Regions from separate parts of the Homo sapiens genome. Here region 1 is linked to region 2. The links are contacts of gene promoters, found by promoter capture Hi-C in blood cells and fetal thymus (Javierre and others, 2016). All regions are on one chromosome and are shown on one strand. The core of a region is centred on a gene start or on the middle of the fragment in contact, and the rest is flanking DNA. Distances in the headings are between cores, read along the strand shown.

The links. The method cuts DNA at HindIII sites, captures the fragments that hold promoters and counts their contacts. A CHiCAGO score of 5 or more calls a contact.
Region 1: a contact is called between a fragment that was not itself captured here and the fragment with the promoter of SKA3 in region 2, in 1 of 17 cell types (monocytes). The highest score is 5.5, in monocytes.

The regions. Positions count from the first base shown.
Region 1 is chr13:20,548,657-20,553,868 of GRCh38, reverse strand. LOC105370103 (a long non-coding RNA gene) reads left to right here. Exons shown (of 6, transcript XR_941725.3): 6 at 1,620-2,235. Among named protein-coding and RNA genes, the nearest start is that of IFT88, 16 kb to the left of the region's middle. The HindIII fragment of the contact is 9,139 bases long and covers 1-5,212 here.
Region 2 is chr13:21,173,997-21,179,594 of GRCh38, reverse strand. It overlaps SKA3 (spindle and kinetochore associated complex subunit 3), which reads left to right and starts at 3,043. Exons shown (of 9, transcript NM_145061.6): 1 at 3,043-3,220. The coding sequence starts at 3,118. MRPL57 (mitochondrial ribosomal protein L57) reads right to left here and starts at 2,937. Exons shown (of 2, transcript NM_024026.5): 1 at 2,878-2,937; 2 at 511-2,683. The coding sequence starts at 2,678. The coding sequence ends at 2,370. RefSeq lists enhancers at 2,468-2,787, 2,803-3,525, 4,248-4,970. The HindIII fragment of the contact is 19,534 bases long and covers 1-5,598 here.

The DNA.
Region 1 (5,212 bases), core at 2,369-4,868, 630 kb after region 2:
CATCCGCCTCGGCCTCCCAAAGTGCTGGGATTACAGGCGTGAGCCACCGTGCCCAGTCACGTCTCACTTTTAAGAATCAGTAGAATACTCTAGATTTAAGGTAGTCTGTATTCAGAGATCACTGATTAAAACAGAAGGGAGTGGAGCAGAGGGAAGAAAGAAAAGTGGAAAAATACTCTAATAAACATACAAGCCGCTTTTATGGATGGAAAATAGTAAAAAGCTGGCCTGTGGCATGCTCTAATTGCAGCCCACATGACCCTGCTTGTGCCTGGAGCAAAGTGGGGCCCTGTGAAAGGTTTCCTTACAAAGCAGCACAGGCTGGCTGGTTCATGAACTCACACACTGCGCTGTTGTTACAGCCAGGCTTTCATGCACACCAAAGCTGATTTCTAAAAGGGCGTTTGTGCAGTCTGTGTGCAAAGTAAATTTCCATCACTTTGGCTTTTCTTTTGCTGCTTTCAGAAGAGCTGGCTTATAAAAAGCCTTATTCCATAGTATAACATGTCATTTTTTCTACTTGCTTGAGTCAGTAATTAAATTGGTTTCATAATAACAGATATGAATTTAGCTTTTCAACTTGAAAGTAGGATCAGTGAAGGCTGGAATGTGGCTTGAAAAGAAACCAGTAAGTTCTTTCCAACCCAAAGTCAACTCTCCCTTGTTCAGCATCCAAAATCACTAAAAAACAAGCACTCAAGTAAACCAAATAAATATTGTACAAAGATATTTGATGACAAGAAACAGTGAAATTAAGTGCATTATGTTTTCAGCATTAATTATCTTTGTTGATCCACGTCAGCTCTATACAGGGTCTAACAGTAACAAGTTCACTCATTCCTTCATCCATCCATTCATTTGTAGGAGTTTCACAAATGGATAAGCCAGAAGGAAGGCATTCCTGGCAGATACGAGAGCATATGCAAGCTGCGCACCTAACACAGTAGCCACTAGCCGTGGCTGTTTAAAATTAAATGGAAGGCCAGGTGTGGTGGCTTATGCCTGTAATTCCAGCATTTTGAGTAGCTGAGGCAGGAGGATCACTTGAGGCCGGGAGTTGGAGACCAGCCTGAACAACATAGTGAGATCTGTCTCTATAAAAAAATTAATGTAAATTAAATTAAAAATAATTCTGATTAATGTTATACTTATGTGTGCTTTTCAAAATTAAATCAAATTAAAACTTCAGGCCGAGAATGGTGGCTCACACCTGTAATCCCAGCACTTTGGGAGGCCAAGGCAGGTGGATCACCTGAGGTCAGGAGTTTGAGATCAGCCTGGCCAACAGAGTGAAACCTCATCTCTATCAAAAATATAAAAATTAGCCAGGCGTGGTGGTGGATGCCTGTAATCCCAGCTACTCAGGAGGCTGAGGCAGGAGAATCGCTTTAACCCAGGAGGCGTAGGCTGCAGTGAGCCAAGATCACACCACTGCACTCCAGCCTGGGCAACAGAGTGAGACTCTGTCTAAATAATAATAATAATAATAATAATAATAATAATAATAATAATAATTCATTTCTTCAGTCACACTAGCCACATCCAGGTGCTCAACTGCCACACAGGAATAGTGGCTACTGTGTTGGAGAATGTGACATAGAACATTTCCTTTATTGCAGACAGTTCTGTTGGACAGTGCTGCAAGGATGGAGAGACTATTAAGATCACCTGACTACACCATTTAAAAAATTTTTTGAATGAACTATCTTTGTTTGTAAGCCCCAAAACATGGTCTGAAGACTCATTAGTGACCTGATCATACAGCTGACCTCTGAACAACATGAGTTTGAACTGCGTGCGGGTCACTTATAGGCAAGTGTTCAACTGCACGGGGCAGGAGCAGTTGGTGCCCAATCTGCTAATTGTTCAAAGGTAGAGTGTAGTTTTTAAAGACAAGTGAGGTAATTTCTTTTAAATCTCTAGGCTACTACAATACAGAATGCTGGGAAATGAATTAATGTTATGCTTACGTGTGCTTTTCAAAATTCCCCTTGTGACTAATGGGATGTCACTCTGCAAAAACATTGTTAGTTTCCCATTGATTCCACTGGTTTGAGTGTGTTTAATGCCGAGGAAAGTGAGAGTTCTTTCGGAAGATGGTAGGTTTTTGTCTTTTTGAGGTGGTTCATTTACTTTGAGAATCATCATTTTGTATTTTTAAAACCAAGTCTTATATGCAAAATTATTGAACTGTGAGAAGAAAAGGCAAATAAAATCTTTCTTTTTCATTGCAAATGTGTCTTTATCCAGTAATGACTTTGAAACGGGCATCTAAATACTTTCTCTGAAACCCCAGTGAAGAAAGTCAAGGGGTCATCCAGGGTGAAGATCTTAATTGGCCTGTTTCCTTCAGCAAGTCTACATGCTTGTTGATTTAGCTTCTCAGCTTCTAATTTTTGTAGATTTCTCAAATTCAGGATCTCCATCTCCCTTCCTCTTACTCATCCTCCTACCACCCCTAGAATCCTGAATCTAGACAAAGATAAAATCCATAAGTGACATTTTCTGTAAGTGAAGTTGGAAGTAATTTGGGAAAAAGCTACAGTAATTATAAGTGGTTATGAAACCCTAATTTTCTGACAAGAACCTACTATCTCTCTGGACATAGTTATACTCAAGCACATCAGTTTCCCTAGACAATATCATACACATCATAGCCTCTGTGACATATGGTTGTATAGGTTGTGGGTTGTGCACTGCACAAGGACACATTTAAGGAGGTGTTGCTCACATTATATACATCACAGATTTGGTACTTATAACAAAAATAAAAACAATTTTCCAGAAGATGGCAGTAAAGTTGTTGGAGGCTGAAAGAATGAGGGTCGTGGTCAACTCAGTGCACCACTGGCGGCTATATGAGCAAACAGCAAACTGTTCTCGTGAAAGCAGGATGTTGGTAAACTGACAAACTGTGCCTGCCGCCCAGTAGGAATGCTGAGGGCAGTCACAACCCAGGCACGAGTGTTTCTTGTGATTAGGCACAACTGAATCCTGTTAGCAATAATGTGAACCTGTGATCAATTAAGCAGCTGACCAATCTACCTCCTCCTCCCTGCTCTTTATACCCAATAAATATGAAGGGCTGAAGAAGCTCGAGGCTGCCTTTGCTCACTAGAAGCAGGGAGCTCTCTTCTTCTTCCCCTGGACCCTTCCTTTAAAACAGTTACTTTTGTCTTAAGTTTTCATTTCCACGTTCATCCCTTCTTTCAGTCTCATAAAGACGGTCTCAAGTAGTAACAGTAGTAACTGTCTCAAGTAGTAACAGTAGTAACTGTCTCAAGTAGTAACAGTAGTAACTGTCTCAAGTAGTAACAGTAGTAACTGTTGTAGCGATGGTCTCAAGTAGTAACTGTGGCAGTCTCCCACACAAAGTATCTTGTTCTTAAAAAAAATCAAGGGGCCAGGCCAGGTGGCTCACACCTGTAATCCCAGCACTTTGGGAGGCTGAGGTGGGCAGATCACGAGGTCAAGAGATCGAGACCATCCTGGCCAACCAACATGGTGAAACCCCATCTCTACTAAAAATAGAAAAATTAGCCGGGTGTGGTGACGCACGCCTGTAGTCCTAGCTACTTGGGAGGCTGAGGCAGGAGAATCGCTTGAACCCAGGAGGCAGAGGTTGCAGTGAGTTGAGATCGTACCACTGCACTCCAGCCTGGTGACAGAGCAAGACTCTGTCTCAAAAAAAAAAACCAAAAAACAATACATTATGACAATTTTCTGTAGAGGAGAGTACAATGTCTTGATGAAGAAGTACCTTTCTCTGATTTACACAAAGGTATGAAATGGACTACCATTGGCTCTAGGGCTGTATAAAATCAAATCCAGACTATTAGTGAAAGTGAACCAATGCAGTTTAATAAGTAAAGAAAAAAAAAGAATGATCAATAATATATATTGAGCCAGGCACAGTGGCTCACGCCTGTAATCCCAGCACTTTGGGAGGCCAAGGTGGGCTGATTTCTTTGAGCTGAGTTTGAGACCAGCCTGGGCAACATGGCAAAACCCTGCCTCTACTAAAAATACAAAAATTGGTGGCGGGGGGCAGGGTGTGCGGTGTGGTGGTGCATGCCTGTGGTCCCAGCTTCTCCAGGGATGAGGCTGGAGAATCGCTTGAACCCGAGAGGTAGAGGCTGCAATGAGCCAAGATCGTGCCACTGCACTCCAGCCTGGGTGACAGAGTAAGACCCTGTCTTAAAATAATAAGTATTGAAATTCTGGCTTCCAAAATACTTGTTCTTTGTTCATATATTATATTACATGTGCAATATAGTGTCTTCGTTCATTCTGGCCGCTATAACAGAATGCTGTAGACTGAGCGGAGCATGGTGGTATGTATGCATCTGTTGTCCTAGATACTTGGGAAGCTGAGGTAGGAGGACACTTGAGTCCAGGAGTTTCAGTCCAGCTTGAGTAACATAGCAAGACCCCTCTCTAAAAAACAAAAATGCTATAGACTGGGTGGCTTATAATAACAGACATTTATTTCTCACAGTTCTGGAGGCTGAGGGGTCCAAGATCAAGGCATTGGCAGTTTCAGTGTCTGGACAGGGCCCACTTCCAGGTTCATAGACAGCCATCTTCTCATGGTCTCCTCACATACTGAAAGGGATGAGGGGTTTCTCGGGCCACTCTCATAAGGGCACTAATCCTGGGCATGAGGGCTCTGCCCCATGACCTAACACAACCCAGAGGCCTTGCTTTCTGATAACATCACGGTGGGGGTAGGGATTCCAATGTATGAATTTGGGGAGACATAAACATTCAGTCTAATATGTGTAGTATAAATAAGATAGTGTAATACATGCTTCCCTAGGCCTCATGGAACCACAGGTACAAATGTGATTAATATATATGGGGAGGAATTCTTCAGTTTTAGGAACATCTTTCTGTCACCCCAAAAGTCTCCCACACACATACACACTGTCTTCCATCTTTGGATCCCCCGAAAAGTAATGTATCAAAAGTACTGTGATGTTAAGGAGGAAAGGGTTTTAGAGAAAAAATAAATTCCTGATTCACTTTGTGACATGTTTAAATTATTTTGTTCCTTGTTCAGGACTATGAGCTTTCTGGCTTGGGCAACTACAGCTGAAAAATGCAACACCCTTTTCTTGTGGAGCAGTTTTACCAAAGTAACGTTTCTCTTATGTTTTGTTCATTTCAGAAATTGTCATCTTCCTTTCCCCCTCTCTTCTTTTCTCTCTCC
Region 2 (5,598 bases), core at 1,794-4,293:
TCACCAGGCTGGAGTGCAGTGGCACAATCTCAGCTCACTGCAATCTCCAACTCCCTGGTTCAAGTGATTCTCCTCCTGCCTCAGCCTCCCGAGTAGCTGGAATTAAAGGCATGTGCCACCATGCCCAGCTAGTTTTTCTATTTTTTAGTAGAGATGGGGTTTCACCATATTGGCCAGGATGGTCCCGATCTCCCGACCTCGTGATCCGCCTGCCTAGACCTCCCAAAGTGCTGGGATTACAGGCGTGAGCCACCACACCCGGCCTCAGCTATTTTTAAATGTTCAATAAATTATTGTTGACCGTACTCACCCAAGATTTCTGTATTATACAGCAATTCAATCTCAAGTCCATCTCATCACTGGCTGTAACTGTGGACAGTTCCTTAAATGTTTCCTCAAATATAAAATAGTTCCAACCGTATAGAGTGCTGTATACTGTGTCACCAAATGCATATTGTATAGGGTACTGTATTACACTACTATATACAGTATGTATTTAGAAACACAAAGTTTTTGACTATTTTTATTATATTCTGAAAGCGAACATCTTCAACTGGTAAATTACATGGTATATTAAATTATTTTCAAAAAAGATATTTTTATTTATATTATTATATGTATTTTTTGAGATGGTGTCTCACTCCCGTCATGCAGGCTGGAGAGCAGTGGCACGATCTCAGCTCACTGCAACCTCCACCACCTGGGTTCAAGCAATTCTCCTTCCTCAGCCTTCCCAGTAGCTAGGATTACAGGCATGCATGACCAAGCCTGGCTAAATTTTTTTTGCTGATTTTTATATTTTTAGTAGAGATGGGGTTTCACCATATTGGCCAGGCTGGTCTCGAACTCCTGACCTTGTGATCCGCCCACCTTGGCCTCCCAAAGTGCTGGGATTACAGGCGTAAGCCACCACGCCCGGCTAATTTTTGTATTTTTAGTAGAGATGGGGTTTCGCCATGTTGGCCAGGCTGGTCTGGAACTCCTGATCTCAGGTGATCCTTCTGCCTAAGCCTCCCAAAGTGATGGGATTACAGAAGTGAGCCACCGTGTGGGCCTCAGCCATACAACTTTGACAAAGTTCTTTGTGTGTCTTCCCAGTCAATAGTGGTTTCTCCTTTATTCCTGTTCCCACAGACGCAATTCTGATTTTTTTCCCCACCTAAATTTTCTTTTTCTGTCGCCCAGGCTAGAGTGCAGTGACACAATCTCGACTTACTGCAGCCTCCACCTCCTGGGTGCAAGCGATTCTCCTGCCTCAGCCTCCTGAGTAGCTGGGATTACAGGCCTCACCACTGCACCCGGCTAATTTTATGTATTTTCAGTGGAGACAGGGTTTCACCATGTTGGTTGGGCTGGTCTTGAACTCCTGGCCTCAAGTGATCTGCCCGCCTCAGCCTCCCAAAGTGCTGGGATTACAGGCGTGAGCCATCCCGCCTGGCCATATATTATTGTTATTTTAGATAGGGTCTCGCTATGTTGCCCAAGCTGGACTCAAGCAATATTCCTGAATAGCTGGGACTACATGCAAGCACCACAGCACCCTGCCAAAATAGCTAAAAAATACACCTTCCTGTAACAGCTCTGATAAATATCTTTTACTTCGTTTATTTTTCTTTTTTGAGATGCAGTCTCCCAGGCTGGAGTGCAGCGGCATGCTCTCGGCTCACTGCAACCTCCGCTTCATTGCAACCTCTGCCTCTGAGGTTCAGGCGATCCTCCCACCTCAGCGTCCCAAGTAGCTGGGATTGCAAGCCTGCACCAACATACCCAGCTAATTTTTTTTGTATTAGTAGAGACGGGTTTTATCACCTTGGCCAAGCTGGTCTTGAACTCCTGACCTCAAGTGATCCGCCCGCCTTGGACTCCTAAAGTGTTGGGATTACAGGCGTGAGCCACCGCACCCGGCCTCTTTTACTTCGCTTAAATGTCCAATTTTAGTAGTAAAATCCCGGAAAATGTTTTTAGGAGTATGTTTAACTGAAAAGCTCATATTTTCTTTCATTTTTGGGCAATTCTTAAGGTAAGCAAACTAATGTTGCATGATAAAGCCCCCATCAAGTATCTCATACTTAAGCAAAGACCTCAAATCATTGTGGCTTTATTGCAGCTTTCCTTCAAAATATCATCTGTGACTGAGGAAATCCCTATCTTCCTATCAGACTAATGAAACCACAGGACAGCAATTAGACTTTTAAGTATTGGGGGTTTAGAGCTCTAGATATTCGATATGCAGACTACTCATGTTTGTTTGTTTTAATAAAGACTGGTCCAAAGGCTCATTTTCACACAAGCTACAGTTTTTCAGTTCCAGGACCAGGTAAAGATGGTCAGCTCCGTGATCCATAAAATCCAAGGGTGACGACTCAGGATTAGGACCATTTCTTGGTGACATTGAGATGGTCGAGCTGGTCCGCAATGAATCTATGCGGGGGGAACTTGGAAGTGGCGGCCGCCTTTATGGCCTCGAAGGCCTCCCTCCTGCGCACCGCGGCGTGGCCGCGCTCCTGCTCCCGGGTCATGTAGGGCATGCTCAGCCAGTAATGGTTCTCCGCCTCGATCTCCAGGCGGCGGATCATGTTCTGCTTGGCGCGCAACGACACGAACCGCGGCCGCCGGTGCTTCCCGATCCACTGACGGCCGGGAATGCGGCCGCGCCAGAGGAGCGCAGTCAGGAACATGGTGCCTGCGGAAGAGAGGGACGGGCTTTGCGGAGGCGAACTGGCGCGGCCGGACCTGGAGAGAGCAGCGGGCGCGCGCTCCAGCTCACGCCTACGGGAGTTCCCGCACCGCCTCCCCTCCAGAGAAGCGGGGAGCCCAGGTAAGGCCAGCAGGCGAAGAAGGAGCTCCCTAGAGAACCGAATTCGCACAGCTACTCACCTGCCGCGCTGCTCAAGACTCTGCGTCTCCGCGGCCGCCAGCAGACGCCGTGGCGTAAGCGCACCCGTCTCGCGGGGTCTCCTGGGGCCTCGGCGAGAGACTTCGGCTCTCGCGAGAGAGGACTGCGCCTGCGCAGAGCCGAGGACGCGTCCGGCGCCGAGATTCAAACTAGTGGCGGGAGGCTGTGAGCTGAGCGGTGGGGTCTGCGTACGCCTGGAGTCCTTCCCCGCTGTGCTCAGCATGGACCCTATCCGGAGCTTCTGCGGGAAGCTGCGGTCTCTGGCCAGCACGCTGGACTGCGAGACGGCCCGGCTGCAGCGAGCGCTGGACGGAGAGGAAAGCGGTGCGTGAGGCGGGCGGCCAGGGCACGGTGCGTGGGGTGCGCCGCGGGCGGAGGGGCGTGGCGAGTGGACGGTATGTCCCACGGGAACCGCCAGGCACTGACGGCGTGGACGGCTGCCACCGAGGCGCAGGGCGGGTGCTGCGCGTCTCACTGCTCGGCGTTTGGCGTTAGCGTAGCTCCCGGGCCTGTTTATGGTTTATTCCTAGGAACCCTTGTCGCGTGTCCGTTTTAGACCCATGTACAACCCCACGGCTCTCTTGAGATAATGAAAGTAGCACTATTACGTTATAAACAGAGACAGCAGCACTTAAGAATAAGAACCTAAATTAACAGATTGAGCTCATAATACATATACTAATTTATACGTGATATGCTTTCGTCACATACAATATGTGTGCTTGTCAGTAAAATACCATGTAAACCTAAACAGTTTCTCTTAGAATCAAGCTATTTAACGTTCTTTACACAATACTTTACACATATAGTGACTTTTTTCTCACTCACGTGGTCCACAGTTGCAGTAAACCTCTGTGTTTTTCCCGCTAAACCATGTTGCCAACACAAACACTAGTACTCAACAGTGCTGGGGTTTAAAAAAATATGTGTATATAAATAAAGCAAAATTCACCATTCCCCTTTTTATTAGAGATTTTTTAAATTGTTGAAAAAGTAGTTCAGATTTTGGAATTATTTCATAAATGTCATAATTGTAATGTGCTTTAAAATATTACACCCTGCAGACTACTTTTACTTTAATTATATAATGAATGATCTCCAGTCACTTGAAAATGTCTATTTCTGCCCGGCGCGGTGGCTCACGCCTGTAATCCTAGCACTTTGGGAGGCTGAGGCGGGCGGATCACAAGGTCAGGAGATCGAGACCATTCTGGCTAACACGGTGAAACCCCGTCTCTACTAAAAATACAAAAAATTAGCCGGGCGTGGTGGCGGGCGCCGGTAGTCCCAGCTACTCGGGAGGCTGAGGTAGGAGAATGGCGTGAACCCGGGAGGCGGAACTTGCAGTGAGCCGAGATCCGCCACTGCACTCCAGCCTCGGCGACAGAGCAAGAGTCCGTCTCAAAAAGAAAAAAAGATTTGGCCGTGCACGGTGGCACACGCCTGTAATCCCAGCATTTTGGGAGGCCGAGGTGGGTGGATCGCCCGAGGTCAGGAGTTCAAGACCAGCCTGGCCAACGTGGTGAAACCTCGTCTCTACTAAAAATACAAAACAATTAGCTGGGCATAGTAGTGGGCGCCTGTAATCCCAGCTACTCGGAGGCTGAGGTGGGAGAATCGCTTGAACCCTGGAAGCGGAGGTTGCAGTGACCCGAGATCGCGCCACTGCACTCCAGCCTGAGCGATCTTAGACTCCATCTAAGAAAGAAAAAACTATCTTCAGATGGTCATCAGGAATGTGAAAAGACATCAATTTCATTAGTCATCAAGGAAATGCAAATTTCATTAGTCATCAAGGAAATGCAAATTAAATCTCAATGTAGTACAGTTGCATACCCAGCAGGATAGCTAAAACGAAAAAGAGAAAATTACCAAGTGTTTGGAAAGATGTGGAACAAATGCGCTTTTTGTTGTTGTTGTTGTTGTTGTTGGAGCAGTACGCACTTTTTTTTTCTTTTTTTAAAATTATTATACTTTTAAGTTCTAGGGTACATGTGCACAACGTGCAGGTTTCTTACATATGTATACATGCACCATGTTGGTGTGCTGTACCCATTATCTCGTCATTTACATTAGGTATATCTCCTAATGCTATCCCTCCCCCCTTCCCTCACCCCATGACAGGCCCAAGTGTGTGATGTTCCCCTTCCTGTGTCCAAGTGTTCTCATTGTTCAATTCCCACCTATGAGTGAGAACATGCGGTGTTTGGTTTTTTGTCCTTGCAATAGTTTGCTGAGAATGATGGTTTCCAGATTCATCCATGTCCCTACATAGGACATGAACTTATCCTTTTTTATGGCTGCACATGGTGTATATGTGTCACATTTTCTTAATCCAGTCTATCATTGATGGACATTTGGGTTGGTTCCAAGTCTTTGCTATTGTGAATAGTGCGGCAATAAACATAAGTGTGCATGTGTCTTTATAGCAGCATGATTTATAATCCTTTGGGTATATACCCAGTGATGGGATGGCTGGGTCAAATGGTATTTTTAGTTCTAGATCCTTGAGGAATTGCCACACTGTCTTCCACAATGGTTGAACTAGTTTACAGTCCTACCAACAGTGTAAAAGTGTTCCTATTTCTCCACATCCTCTCCAGCACCTGTTTTTTCCTGACTTTTTAATGATTGCCATTCTAACTGGTGTGAGATGGTATCTCATTGTGGTTTTGATTTGCATTTCTCTGATGGCCAGTGAT